5 separate regions of the Homo sapiens genome follow, and regions 1, 3, 4 and 5 are each linked to region 2. Evidence: promoter capture Hi-C in human tissues and cell types (Jung and others, 2019). All regions are on one chromosome and are shown on one strand. Each heading gives the region's core, a stretch centred on a gene start or on the middle of the fragment in contact. The rest is flanking DNA. Distances are from core to core; before and after follow the strand shown. Region 1 overlaps CYP11B1 (cytochrome P450 family 11 subfamily B member 1). Region 2 holds the start of LY6E (lymphocyte antigen 6 family member E). Region 3 has its middle 19 kb from the start of LY6D. Region 4 has its middle 19 kb from the start of GML. Region 5 holds the start of GML (glycosylphosphatidylinositol anchored molecule like).

Region 1 (2,700 bases), core at 58-2,557, 150 kb before region 2:
TGCCCACAGAGCTCTTCAAGGATAAAAAAACTCCCTTCCCAAATTGATTTCTGACAGTCATGGTGAAAGATACTTCCTTGGGCCTCCGGGGATGGGTGGCCTCCGTGGATTGGCACAGATCTTACATGATCAATCTGCTTTATCATTTCACTCTCCTTCAGGCTTTGGATATGTTCCTCTATGGTGAACTAAGATTGTCCTGGCATTCATTTCATGTCGGCCATATTTTGTTCATATTTCAGCCAACCAACCAGACTATTAGAGCCCATTTCTAACTCTCAAACTATCCAGAATCTCTGCTTGGAGGGCCCATATCAATAAATTCAGCCTGAATCTAACTTTTCTTTTGTTCAACCATGATCCCACCCACTTAAAATTCATTTCCACTTGTTTTCCCCTGATGCATCTGCATGTATTGGGAATGGCACATGGTTGTTTTAGAGTGTAGCACAGCTCCTCCTGGGTCACACTTTTACCTCATCTTTTGGGGCCTGCTGGTACTTAAGTGTAGCTCTAGGTCTAGAAGGAAAGAGAGATGGTGCAGTAGGTTCTGAGACAAATCAACAGTGTCTTGCAAGGCAGCTCCCTCAGGGAGGCCATTACAGGTTCTTCAGGCAAAGCAGAGTTTCTGCCATCCTCAAGGACACCTTCCCCTGTGCTGCCTCAGGCTTGTGCCCTTCTCCACACAACACTCACACACCTTCACCTAGGAGAGTGAGAAGGCTGGAGCTGGGGAATTATTTTCCAGCCAGAGGTGGACATTTCCAAGGACAACTCTTAAGGAAGAAGAGAGCCCAACAGTCCCTCTCTATCAGTAAAAGGGCTGAGACATGTGAGCAGGGCTAGACTGTGCTCTTTTCCAAAAAAGACCCTGCCTGCTATCTTGGATATCTGGGTCCTGGCTCCTCCAAACCCTATTGCCAATCCTTGCTTGTTTGTTTTTTTAAATTCCACTGCTGGATACATGTACAGGAAATTTTTCAGGATAAGTGCAAGTAAAGCTGAAAAATGCTGTTGAAAGTGAAAGTGCCCACACAAAAGAGTCCCCAGAGAGCTTCTTCATTTCTTTCCATCATGTGAGGACACAGTAAGAATGTCCTATCTATGACTCAGGAAATAGACCCTCCCCAGACACCAAATCTGCCAGCACCTTGATCTCAGATGTCTCAGGCTCCAGATCTGTGAGCAACAAATCTCTGTTGTTTCCGAGCCACCCAGTCTGTGGTGCTTTGTTATAGCAGCTTGAATAAACTAAGACAGAAGATTGGTACTGAAAGATGGGGTGCTGCTGGGTAATTGGGTAGAGGCTAGAAGGGTTTTGAAGTGCATGCTAGAGAAAGCCTATGTCACCATGAGCAGGCCCTGAAGGATGCTGCTGGTAAGGGCTCAGAACAAGAGGAGGAGGGCTGTAAAGAAAGCCTCCATCTTCTTAGAGAATATCTAAGTGGCCATGGACAGAATGGTACTAGAAATATAGATGATAAAAACCATTCTTATGGGACTTCAAACAGAAATAAGGAACATGTTATTTGGAAACTGGGGGAAAGGTAGTCCTTGTTATAAACTGGCAAAGAACTTGGCTGAATTGACTTTATGTCCTAGTGTTTTATGTAGAGTAGAACTGGTGAGTAATTAAATAAGATATTTGGCTGAAGAGATTTCTAAGCCAAGTGTTTAAGGTGCAACTTGGTGCTCTTGAATGTTTATAGTAAAATAGAAGAAGAGAAAAATAATTTGAAGATGGATTTTTTTTTAAATCAAAAGGGAAGCAGAACTTAAAGATTTGGGAAATTGCCAGTCTGTCCATATTGCAAAATATGAGAAAGCATGTTCTGGAGACAGCACCAAGGGTGTGGCCAAGGGACCATTTGATAAGATTAGTATGGATCAGCCAGGTGTTGTTCACCAAGACAATGGAAGAATGACCCTGGAGGCATTTTAGAAATAACTGGGGCTGCCACTGTCACCACACACCCAAAGTGCAAGAGTCTAGGGGGACAGAATATTTTTAAAGGATGGGCTATATTTTTCTGTAAGACCTTGGCACTCACTCCCTTGTGCTACCTCAAGGCTCTGCTCCCCACATTCTGGAGTTCTGTTCATTGACCACCCCAAGTGGGCTCCAGTAAGCTTATGTGGGTCATGTGCCACAGTGGCTGCCCCTCCAGAGGGCACATGTAGTAAACCTTGGTGGTGTCAACATAGGGTCATCTCTGCTGGAGTGAAGGTTGCATGAGCTGTGGGGTGTGGAAGCCTGCACCTGGATATCAAAGGGTGGAGTGGCCCACAACTTCAGGCACAAGACTGAGGCAGAGGGCTGCTGTGAAAGCCATGCCTAGTGGAGGCAGCAGAGCAGGACAGCCCAGGATCCCAGGTAGGTGAAGCTACCGGTGAGTCATTCCAGTCTGGGAGACCTGCAGGAATGCAACTCCAACTCATGAGAGCTGCACTGCAGCTGCACCCAGCCAAGCTGCAGGGGCAGAGCATCCTGAAGCCCTGAGGGAAACAATCCCTGCACCACTATGTTCAGAAGATGGAAAATCCAGTCAAAGGAGATTATTCTTGAGGCTTAAGGTTTAATACTGTTTGTCACATTCAATTTTGGAGTTGCTTGAAACTTGTTACTCCTTTCTTCTTTCCTGTTTCTCCTTTCTGGAATGGGAATGTTTATCCTATGCCTCTCCAACCACTGTATTTTGG
Region 2 (2,700 bases), core at 12-2,511:
TTTCGTCCCACAGTTCTTACTGAGCCCCTGCCATGGCAGGGATGGCCCCAGGTGCCGGCTGCAGAGACAGAACCCCCTGCCCTCACCGCCAACATTCCAGAGGGGAAGATGCCCTGCCTGTGCCCCACGTAAGACCCAGAGGCAGGGACTCCCCCGGGCCACAGCCTACTGGAGGCTCCTGTCCCCAGAGACAGCTGGGCCATCGCCCCCAAAGCTGTGGAAGCCCCACCCACGATGCCATCATACCACGGCCAGGACATCTCGTGACACACACAGCCCCAGCCTCAGCCTCCATACACACACACACACGCACCACACACACTCACTCATGCAAAACACACACACAGCCACATTGACTGCACCCCTAGATTTGAGACAGGGGTGTTACAGGTGTCTGTCAGCCCCAGCCCCCTCCTGACCACATGGCCACCTGCCCACCCTCACATTTCCGCACACCCTCCCCCTACTCCCGTGTGGGGTTCAGAAGACCCCTCCCTGGTGCTCGCCCTGTCACCCAGAAAGGAAACGCACTGTCAACTGGAGAACAGGCCGGTGGCAGAGCCCCAGCGCCCACAGCCCCTCGGAGAGGGCCTGGCGGGAGGAGAGGCACCCACCGATGGCAGAGCCTCAGTGCCCTCGCAGAAGCCAGCACCCACAACCTCCCACCTCCCAACCCTTGCCGGTCTCCCCACCCCCGCCTGAGGGATGGCCAAGGAACAGCCCAGCCTGGAGCGGGAAGCAGGGACAAGATGACCTCAGGAATCCCAGGCTGCGGGGGTGCCTGCGTCCTCCCCTCCCGAGCTCCACTCCGCAGGCGAGACCCCCAACACTGCTCCCCGACACTCTCCGAGGCACCCCTCCTCCGTGCTCACACCCAAACACGTCTGCTCACCCGTGGGCTTCCCACCCCGAACACAACGAGGACTGTCCAGGTGTCAGTGACGGTCACCCCGACCTGGTCCCCTGTCCGGCCTCGCCAGGTCAGCACCCGCCGCGCGCACAGCAGGGCCGGGTGGAAGGAGGCCGGGCCTGGCCGTGGCTCAGGCGCCACCTCACTGGGGAAACTGGGAGGTGGTCTCAGCCCCCTTCTGGGCCTCAGCTTCCCCATCTATCCCAAGGAGCCGGGGTAGGCCTGGGCGGCGCGGGGACCCCCACCGCGGGCTCGCCGACTCCGCCCGCCGGAGGCCCCTCCCGCGTCCCGCCCCTGCCCCCGCCCCGGGGCCGCGCGGCTGCCTGGGAGGCTCCGGGCCAGCCGCGGTCCAGAGCGCGCGAGGTTCGGGGAGCTCGGCCAGGCTGCTGGTACCTGCGTCCGCCCGGCGGTGAGTCCGCGGGCCCCCGGCCGGGACGCCCCCGCCACCTGCGCGCACGCGCTCAGACCCGGCGGCCTCGGCTGCGGTGCACGCGGCCCCGGCTCAGCCACGCGCGGCGGAAGGCGCCCTGCGGGGGCCGGGGCGGGAGAGGGTGGGAGAGAGCAAGAGGGGCGCACGGGGAGGCGCAGGAGAGGGGCTGGGGCTGCCGGTGGGTTGGTCCCCAGAGAGCTGAGCTTCTCCTCCCATCCCCCGCAGGCCTCCCCGAATGTTTCCAAAGATCTGGGGCGGGAGCGGGCGGAGACTGCCGCCAGGAGCCTCCCGGCCGCCCCAGGGCTGCGCAGCCACTGGAGCCCATCACCCAACTCCAGACGCTCCTGGCTCCTCTACGTGGGCCGGGAGGGACAGCCTTGAGGACTAGGGGAGGGGGCACGGGACCTTGCAGAGCTCCTGGCCGGAAAGGGAGGATTGACCGCCCCCGGCATATCACCCCGGAGCACTGGAACCCGCCCCCGCTTCTTGTTTTGGCACTGGTGGTGCTTGCGGTGAGGTCCAAGGAGCCCAGCCTCCCTGAGTGGACCGCCGGGCCCCTCCCCGTTCCGGGACACAGGAGAGGCTCCCGCCCCTTGCTGGCTGGGCAGCCCCTAGATACCTGGCTCCCAGGGGCCAGCTTCCCTGAGCCTGGGGATGAGCCATGAGCCTGCAGCCTGGGCCCCAGGGGCGCCCCCCACGGCCTGCCGGCTGGCTCCCTCCGGGCTCCATGGCCCACCCGGCCTTCCTAATTGCCTTCGGCTCCCACCGGTGCCTTAGCTCAGCCTGGTGGCCCAGCGGGTTGGGTGCCACCCAGTGAGCAGGTGGCGGCACCAGCTGGACCTGTTTGTGGCCCTGTATGCTAGGACTTCCTCAGAGACAGCTCAGGGACCCCCCCACACCAGAACCTCACTTTAGGGGGGTGGGGGGAAAAGGAATTGGAGATCCTTCCTCCTCGGGCTACTCCCTGGAGGCGGGGATAGGCCCCAGCCGGACTTGGCACTGTTTTTGGCCACCTGGGGCTCCCACTCCCAACCCCAGGATGTCAGCCCAGGTCTCACTGTCCTGGCCTGCTGCTCTCCCCTTAGGGCCTCTGCGGGCCCCTCTCCAGATCTGTTCTCTGAGGCATCCTCCTTACCCCCAGTGCCCAGCACTAGCTCCCCAGGCCCGGGATGTCCCTCCCACTCCTCTGCCCACGGCTGTCCCTGACAGAAGGCAGCAGCCTCCCCCTCCAACACCATGCACTCACAAAACAGAGAATCACGACCCCAGCTGGGTGTGTTCCAGATTCTTTCTCCAGCAGTGCAGAGGGTCCTGTGCAGAGGCCGAGGAGCAGTACAGCGACCCATCTGGCCCTTTCCTG
Region 3 (2,700 bases), core at 108-2,607, 210 kb before region 2:
GGGGTTTCCTGTAAGGGGTGTCCTGTAGGGAGTGTCTTCAAGCAGTGCCCCTGTACGGGGGTCCTGTAGGGGTGTCCTGAAGGGGTTTCCTGTAGGGGGTGTTCTGTAGGGGCGTCCTGTAGAGATGTTCTGTAGGGGTGTCCTCTAGGGGTGTTCTGCAGGGGTGTCCTGTAGGGGTTTCCTGTAAGGGTGTCCTGTAGGGAGTGTCCCGTAGCAGTGCCCTGTACAGGGGTCCTGTAAGGGTGTACTGCAGGCGGTGCTCTGTAGGGAATGTCCTGTAGATGTGTCTTTTATGGGGTATTCTGTAGGGGATGTTGTTTAGGGGGTGTTCTGTAGGGGTGTCTTTTAGGTATGTTCTGTAGGGGTTTTCTATAACGGGTGCCCTGTAGGCTTCCTGTAGGGTGGTCTTGATGGGGGTGTCCTGTAGCAGTTCCCTGGGCAAAGCACACCTGCTCTGACTTCAGAGCGAGTGCCTGCTGCGTGGGGTGATTGCATCTTCCGCACCTGTGCAGCTGATATCCATGTTCTTGGGGTCTGACCCTGACCTTTCTTGCTCTCCCTGCCTACAGCTGGGTTCCTGGTGCTGGTGGGGCCGGGAAACACTCCTAGGTTCCTCTGAACAAGGACCTTACATTACCGCCACTTCTCCGTAGGGATCCTGGTAATCCCTAAGCCCTCGGGCTGTGATGGGAATGAAGGGGTCACCCTCATTAGATCCTGGGAGCAGTGACCAGCTCCCAGCAGGTGCTGTCTGACCGTCAGCATCATATGGGCCAACTTTCCAGAAAAGCAAAGTAAGCCCCAGAGAGCACAGGTGTCCCAGGCCAGTGTCCCCATGTCCTGACTTAGCACCCTTGGCCCCTTCTCTCCCATGGTTGTGCCCTGATATATGGAAGGGTTGTGCCCTTCCGTATAGGGGCTGGAGGGATCCGATCAGCTTGGGCAGCCTGACCTTGACTCCTGCCCTTTCCTGATGCCCCCTCCATCTGTCTTTCCAGCCTTCCCACTGCAGGCCCCTCCTCAAGCTGGGGCTGCTCTCCAAAGTCTCCAGCCCTCCCCACTTCCCCCCTACCCTCACCCCACGCTCAGGAGAAGCTGATGGGGCTAATTATCGCTAGATGATAATTTTTCAGCTGATAATCACATGCTCTGTCCCTCCCACCCACACCCCCTGCCTCCTGGCCCCTTTTCAGGCCCCAAAGCCAGGTCATCAAGGTCAGGGTAGAGTGGGGCTAGGGCGGTGACCAACTAGCCCTGGTTTTCTTAGGACTTTCTTTTTTAGCACTCAGAGTCCAACATCCCAAGAATTCCCCTCTGTCTTGGGAAAAGGGGGATGGAACCCAGGCTGGAACCCAGGACCAGCATCGGGGCTTTCCCCACACAAGCCACAAAGACACCAGAAGCTGTGCCCATAGGAAGAGGCCTCCCCCAACTCCCTGCAGCCCGCAGTCCAGGCTGGTGATCCTTGGCAAAGCCTGCCCTGCCAGCGCCCGGTCCCGGGGTGCCCAGCCCAGGAGCCACCTGCCCCTGTCCCTCCCCTGGTGTGGCCAGCGTCTTACCCAGGGCAGCACACACAGCAGCCAGAAGCAGCAGCACCAGGAGAAGCCTCATCGCGGGGTTGTCCGCCAGGGACTGGGAGCCACAGTGCAAAGGCGCCTTTATATGGTGGCCGGCGACTGAGCCAGACCTGGTAATTTAGCCGGAAGATGCGCTGGGGAGAGCAGGGCCGGCCTGACTCATGCCACTAGGCCTCACTCTGCCCCACCTCCAGGACTCTCAGAAGGCTCCTGTGCCCCCCTCTCTGCTGTCCCTTGGTCCTGAGCCTCTGGGCCCCTACTCCCTGCAGCTTGGGCCCTGTCCTGGGTGTTCTCAGAGGGTCATGGCTCTACCTCTGCAGCCTGGGGGGACTGCCCAGCGCACTTGTGAGTACGTACAGCCCCCTCCCCGCTGCTTCTGAGTATGTGCAGCCCCTCCCCGCCGCTTCTGAGTACGTACAGCCCCCTCCCCGCCGCTTCTGAGTAGGTACAGCCTCATCCCTGGTGCTTCTGAATATCTATGGCCCCCTCCCCTCTGCACTCTCCCTTGCACCAGGGTAGGCAGGGGTCACCAAACCCATTCTAATGGGGAAACTGAGGCACTGGAGGCTGGAAGCTTTGAGCCAGTGCTTCTTAATCTTCAGTGTGCACACAAATCACCTAGGATCCGGTCGAAATGCTGGCTGTGGAGGCCTGGGCGGGGCCTGGAATGGTGCAGGCTCCTTGGGGTGGTGTTGCCTGTCTAGGGTAGGCTTAGCTTGGGCCAGTGGCAGAGCCAAGGTGCACAGGGCAGCCTGGCCATGTCTGAATCACTACCCATCCAACCCCAGGCCAGGCCTGGGGGACTGTGGGGTGACAGGGATATTCTAGGGTCACGGGACATGGCCTGTTTACAGTGGGGCTGGCCCCATTTCTATCCTCAGGGTCTCTCTGGGGTTCTGGAGGCTGAGGGGCAGCAGCTCACAAGCTCAAATCCCCTGGGAGTCTCTCCTCCAACCCCCAATGTCTCCCTGCTTCAGGATGGCTCCCCTTCTGGTCTCCTTCCACCTCCCCCTCCTCATCCTGTCTGCCCTCCCCACTGGGATTGGCTCCAGTCCTCTCTACCCCTTGCATGAGACACTTACACTCACCTTCAGCCTTTCCCAGGCCTTCCCTTGTACCCTGA
Region 4 (2,700 bases), core at 181-2,680, 160 kb before region 2:
AGACATCTACAGAACTCTCCACCCCAAATCAACAGAATATACGTTCTTCTCAGAACCACATCACACTTATTCCAAAATTGACCACATAGTTGGAAGTAAAGAACTCCTCAGCAAATGTAAAAGAACAGAAATCACAACAAACTGTCTCTCAGACCACACTGCAATCAAATTAGAACCCAGGATTAAGAAACTCACTCAAAACTGCACAACTACATGGAAACTGAACAACCTGCTCCTGAATAACTACTGGGTAAATAACGAAATGAAGGCAGAAATAAAGATGTTCTTTGAAACCAATGAGAACGATGACACAATGTACCAGAATCTCTGGGACACATTTAAAGCAGTGTGTAGAGGGAAATTTATAGCACTAAATGCCCACAAGAGAAAGCAGGAAAGATCTAAAATTGACACCCTAACATGACAATTAAAAGAACTAGAGAAGCAAGAGCAAACACATTCAAAAGCTAGCAGAAGGCAAGAAATAGCTAAGATCAGAGCAGAACTGAAGGAGATAGAGACACAAAAAACCCTTCAAAAAATCAGTGAATCCAGGAGCTGGTTTTTTGAAAAGATCAACAAAACTGATAGACTGCTAGCAAGACTAATAAGAAAAGAGAGAAAAATCAAATAGACAAAAATGATAAAGGGGATATCACCACCAATCCCACAGAAATACAAACTACTATCAGAGAATATTATAAACACTTCTATGCAAATAAACTAGAAAATCTAGAATAAATGAATAAATTCCTGGACACATACACCCTCACAAGACTAAACCAGGAAGAAGTTGAATCGCTGAATAGACCAATAACAGGCTCTGAATTTGAGGCAATAGTTAACAGCCTACCAACCAAAAAAAGTCCAGGACCAGATGGATTCACAGCTGAATTCTACCAGAGGTACAAAGAAGAGCTGGTACCATTCCTTCTGAAACTATTCCAATCAATAGAAAAAGAGGGAATCCTCCCTAACTCATTGTATGAGGCCAGCATCATCCTGATACCAAAGCCTGGTAAGGACACAACAAAAAAAAGAGAATTTTTTTAGACCAATATCCCTGATGAACATCGATGCAAAAATCCTCAATAAAATATTGGCAAACCGAGTCCAGCAGCATATCAAAAAGCTTAGCCACCAAGATCAAGTTGGCTTCATCCCTGGGATGCAAGGCTGGTTCAACATTGGCAAATCAATAAATGTAATCCAGCGTATAAACAGAACCAAAGACAAAAACCACATGATTATCTCAATAGATGCAGAAAAGGCCTTTGACAAAATTCAATAGCCTTTCTTGCTAAAAACTCTCAATAAACTAGGTATTGATGGAATGTATCTCAAAATAATAAGAACTATATGTGACAAACCCACAGCCACTATCATACTGAATGGGCAAAAACTGGAAGCATTCCCTTTGAAAACTGGCACAAGACAGGGATGCCCTCTCTCACCACTCCTATTCAAAATAGTGTTGGAAGTTCTGGCCAGGGCAATCAGGCAAGAGAAGGAAATAAAGGGTATTCAATTGGGAAAAGAGAAAGTCAAATTGTCCCTGTTTGCAGATGACATGATTGTATATTTAGAAAACCCCATTGTCTCAGCCCAAAATCTTCTTAAGCTGATAAGCAACTTCAGCAAAATCTCAGGATACAAAATCAATGTGCGAAAATCATAAGCATTCTTGTACACCCATTACAGACAAACAGAGAGCCAAATCATGAGTGAACTCCCATTCACAATTGCTTCAAAGAGAATAAAATACCTAGGAATCCAACTTACAAGGGATGTGAAGGACCTCTTCAAGGAGAACTACAAACCACTGCTCAATGAAATAAAAGAGGACACAAACAAATGGAAGAACATTCCATGCTCATGGATAGGAAGAATCAATATCGTGAAAATGGCCATACTGCCCAAGGTAATTTATAGGTTCAATGCCATCCCCATCAAGCTACCAATGACTTTCTTCACAGAATTGGAAAAAACTACTTTAAGTTCGTATGGAACCAAAAAAGAGTCTGCATTGCCAAGACAATCCTAAGCCAAAAGAACAAAGCTGGAGGCATCATACTACCTGACTTCAAACTATACTACAAGGCTACAGTAACCAAAACAGCATGGTACTGGTACTGAAACAGAGAAATAGACCAATGGAACAGAACAGAGGCCTCAGAAATAACACCACACACCTACAACCATCTAACCTTTGACAAACCTGACAAAAGTAAATGGGGAAAGGATTCCCTATTTAATAAATGGTGCTGGGAAAACTGGCTAGCCATATGTAGAAAGCTGAAACTGGATCCCTTCCTTACACCTTATACAAAAATTAATTCAAGATGGATTAAAGACTTAAATGTTAGACCTAAAACCATAAAAACCCTAGAAGAAAACCTAGGCAATACCATTCAGGACATAGGCATGGGAAAGGACTTCATGACTAAAACACCAAAAGCAATGGCAACAAAAGCCAAAATAGATAAATGGGATCTAATTAAACTAAACAGCTTCTGCACAGCAAAAGAAACCACCATCAGAGTGAACAGGCAGCCTACAGAATGGGAGAAAATGTTTGCAATCTACCCATCTGACAAAGGGCTAATATCCAGAATCTACAAAGAACTTAAATTTACAAGAAAAAAATCAAACAACCCCATCATAAAGTGGGCAAAGGATATGAACAGACACTTCTCAAAA
Region 5 (2,700 bases), core at 34-2,533, 180 kb before region 2:
GGCCTGACTGCTGAAACTGTCTGCGGTAACCTGAAACCAGTTTTATCTGATGGCTACTGAGACCACCTGCTGCAACTCTAAGCCTCGGTTCACCCACTGCCGTCACTGATTCACTCATCAACCAGAGCTTGCCAGCTCCCCAAAATCCTACTAGTGCCAATGAAACTCAGACAGCAATATGTACTATTTCTCTTCTTTATAAAAAAGAGACATAGTTCCTTTTTTTTTGAGACAGAGACTTGATTTGTCCTGCAGGTTGGAGCACAATGGCACGATCTCGGCTCACTACAACCTCCACCTCCTGGGATCAAGGGATTCTCCTGCCTCAGCCTCCTGAGTAGCTGGGACTACAGGCACACACCACCACACCCAGCTAATTTTTGTATTTTTAGTAGAGACGGGGTTTCACCATGTTGATCACTCTGGTCTTGAACTCCTGACCTCAAATGATCTGCCCGCCTCAGCCTCCCAAAATGCTGGGATTACAGGTGTAAGCCACCGCGAATTTAAAAAAGCCTTTTCTTTGTTCTTTGGACATACTGAAGGCCAGCCAGTCTGCCCCCGTGCCCCTAATTGCAGTTATTTCCTCCCAAATAAAACATTTCAATTTCAGAAATTCACCTATTTTATATGACTTCGACAAGAGCCAAGCCACACTGTGTAGGAGATGCTCGGGTGAAGCCAGCTGTCCCTGGCCACACACAGCTTGAAGGCAAAATGGCAGGAGCTCAAGCGAAAGCCAGGCAGGTCTCCCCCTGAAACCTCTGCACAGGTGGGCGCTGGCGGGGCTGAAGGGCAAGGGCACCGCTCAAGCTGGCTTTGGTCAGGGTTAGGGACAGGGCCGGCTCCAGAGGCGACGGGGTCGCACCCTGAGCGGAGGGGCTCCCGGGGTCCCCAGGGGTTATGGTGATGGCGGGACCCCCTAGAGGGAGGGTCCAGGAACGAGGCAGGTGGACTGGGACCTTGAGGGCAGGGTGGGCCTGGGCGGTGCCAACAGGCTGCCGAGGGTGGCTGCTGTCCCGTTTCTCCAGCAGCCAGGGCCGTGCGCTTCTAGAACATTCCCCGTGGCTTTCCTAAAGGGAGCGTGGATGGAGCCAGGGTGTGCAGATTTCTGTGAGAAATATTTTCACCTGGGAGCCCCAAGGGGGACCCTGCCCACCTTTGAACACTGGCAGATGGGCTGGAGGCCTGGAGCCTGGGGACGGGGCTTTGAGGGTCCGGAAGGAGGGCGGGGCTGTGCGGCCGGCGGAGGCCCCCGAAAGTTCCAGAAAGCGGGTGGGGAGGTCGGCGCGGGAGGCTCAGATGGCTGGAGGCGGCGGGCACGCACACTGCGGGGCTCCGAGGGGCACAGGTCAGTTTCCTGAGGCGGGTCGGGACCCAGGCGTGAGACTGGAGTCTGCCCAGGGGCCCAGCTGAGGCAGCCTCCTCGTCAGCTGCTTGGGCCGCCAGGACGCCGCCGGGGGTGCGCCGCGCTTCCCTGGATGGGGTGCCCCCACTCCCCTCGGAGCCCCAGGGAGACCCCCCGAACTCAGCTCCTCTCAGGGGTGCCAGGGGGACCCCTCAAAACTCCACTCCCCGCAGGTTCCTGGGGAGACGCCCCCTGCTCCATTCCCCTCAGGGTCCCAGGGAGACCCCCTAATTCAGCTCCTCTCAGGGGTACTGGGGGACCTCTCGAGCTCCACTCCCATCAGGGTCCCAGGGAGACCCCCCAACTATGCTCAGGGGTCCCAGGGAGATGCCAGCACCCCAACTCCGCTTCCCTGGGGCCCCCCTCCCCTTACAGCTCAACTTCCCTCGAGAGTCTGGGGCTGGGGCTCCGTTCAGTTCTTGAGTCCCCTTCCCTCGGGGTGTCCCGGGGCCGCCCACCCCCACACTGTCTGTGATTCCCCAAGGCGCGGGTCTCGGGCCGCAGCCTGTTCCACGTTCTGCTGCTCGTTCTTTTCTGGCTCCTTGCTTTCGAAGGAGAGAAGGAGGCCTTCGTTTCCAGTCTTTTTGCCTTTTCTAATGGAGCCCTGCTTTTCCTTCCGTGTCCCTTCAGGCTACTTCTGCCAGGTTTCTATTTTTCATTCTTTATTATGACTTTGCCCAAAATATTCTTGACTTCTATTGAGAAGGATTTGGGGGTCTATTTCTTATTTGGAGGTGTGTTCTTAAGTTCCAAACAGATGAGGATTTTCCAGTTAATCCTTCTGGGGTGACTTATTGCTTAATGCCACCATAGTCAGAAAATGGACTCTCAGTGTCCGAAACTGCATTCGGCTCTGAAGTGTCTGTCCTTGTCACCTCTTGCAATGTTTTTTGCCTGGAAGCCTGCACTCGCCGACGCTGACGTAACTGTTTCTGCCTTTCAGTTCTACAGCCTCCTTTGCTTTGTGATATTGTCATATACTTTATTTCTATATATGTTATGAACTCAATATTTCTTGTAGTGGGTCTGCTGATAATAAGATATTCCTACTCTTTTTGTCTGAAGCCATCTTAAGCTTACCCTGTATTTGCCCCATGCATCTCTTCCGTTTCACGGTTCCTGAGTTGTCACCTTTGTGATAAACTGGTAATAGTAAGTAAACTGTTTTCTTGTGCTCTGTAAGCTGTTCTAGCAAATTATCTAGGAGGAGGTGGTCTTGGAAACCCTTGATTTATAACTGGGCAGTCAGAAGTACACGTGGCCCAGACTTGTGATTGGCATCTGAAGTGGGG

The links. The method cuts DNA at HindIII sites, captures the fragments that hold promoters and counts their contacts. A contact is called where the count stands out against the background at its distance.
Region 1: a fragment that was not itself captured here is called in contact with the fragment with the promoter of LY6E in region 2 in 3 of the 25 tissues and cell types used here (liver, lymphoblastoid cells and spleen).
Region 3: a contact is called between a fragment that was not itself captured here and the fragment with the promoter of LY6E in region 2, in 1 of the 25 tissues and cell types used here (lymphoblastoid cells).
Region 4: a fragment that was not itself captured here is called in contact with the fragment with the promoter of LY6E in region 2 in 2 of the 25 tissues and cell types used here (dorsolateral prefrontal cortex and lymphoblastoid cells).
Region 5: a contact is called between the fragment with the promoter of GML here and the fragment with the promoter of LY6E in region 2, in 8 of the 25 tissues and cell types used here (H1 embryonic stem cells, adrenal gland, dorsolateral prefrontal cortex and 5 more).

Annotation. Positions count from the first base shown.
Region 1 is chr8:142,869,798-142,872,497 of GRCh38, forward strand. It overlaps CYP11B1 (cytochrome P450 family 11 subfamily B member 1), which reads right to left. Exons shown (of 9, transcript NM_000497.4): 9 at 2,560-2,700. Among named protein-coding and RNA genes, the nearest start is that of CYP11B1, 8.7 kb to the right of the region's middle. The HindIII fragment of the contact is 7,306 bases long and covers 1-2,700 here.
Region 2 is chr8:143,017,268-143,019,967 of GRCh38, forward strand. It overlaps LY6E (lymphocyte antigen 6 family member E), which reads left to right and starts at 1,262. Exons shown (of 4, transcript NM_002346.3): 1 at 1,262-1,319. LY6E-DT (LY6E divergent transcript) reads right to left here and starts at 1,123. Exons shown (of 2, transcript NR_026913.1): 1 at 893-1,123. The HindIII fragment of the contact is 17,617 bases long and covers 1-2,700 here.
Region 3 is chr8:142,804,532-142,807,231 of GRCh38, forward strand. No RefSeq gene overlaps it. Among named protein-coding and RNA genes, the nearest start is that of LY6D, 19 kb to the left of the region's middle. The HindIII fragment of the contact is 9,093 bases long and covers 1-2,700 here.
Region 4 is chr8:142,852,588-142,855,287 of GRCh38, forward strand. No RefSeq gene overlaps it. Among named protein-coding and RNA genes, the nearest start is that of GML, 19 kb to the left of the region's middle. The HindIII fragment of the contact is 3,594 bases long and covers 1-2,700 here.
Region 5 is chr8:142,833,518-142,836,217 of GRCh38, forward strand. It overlaps GML (glycosylphosphatidylinositol anchored molecule like), which reads left to right and starts at 1,284. Exons shown (of 4, transcript NM_002066.3): 1 at 1,284-1,351. The HindIII fragment of the contact is 25,891 bases long and covers 1-2,700 here.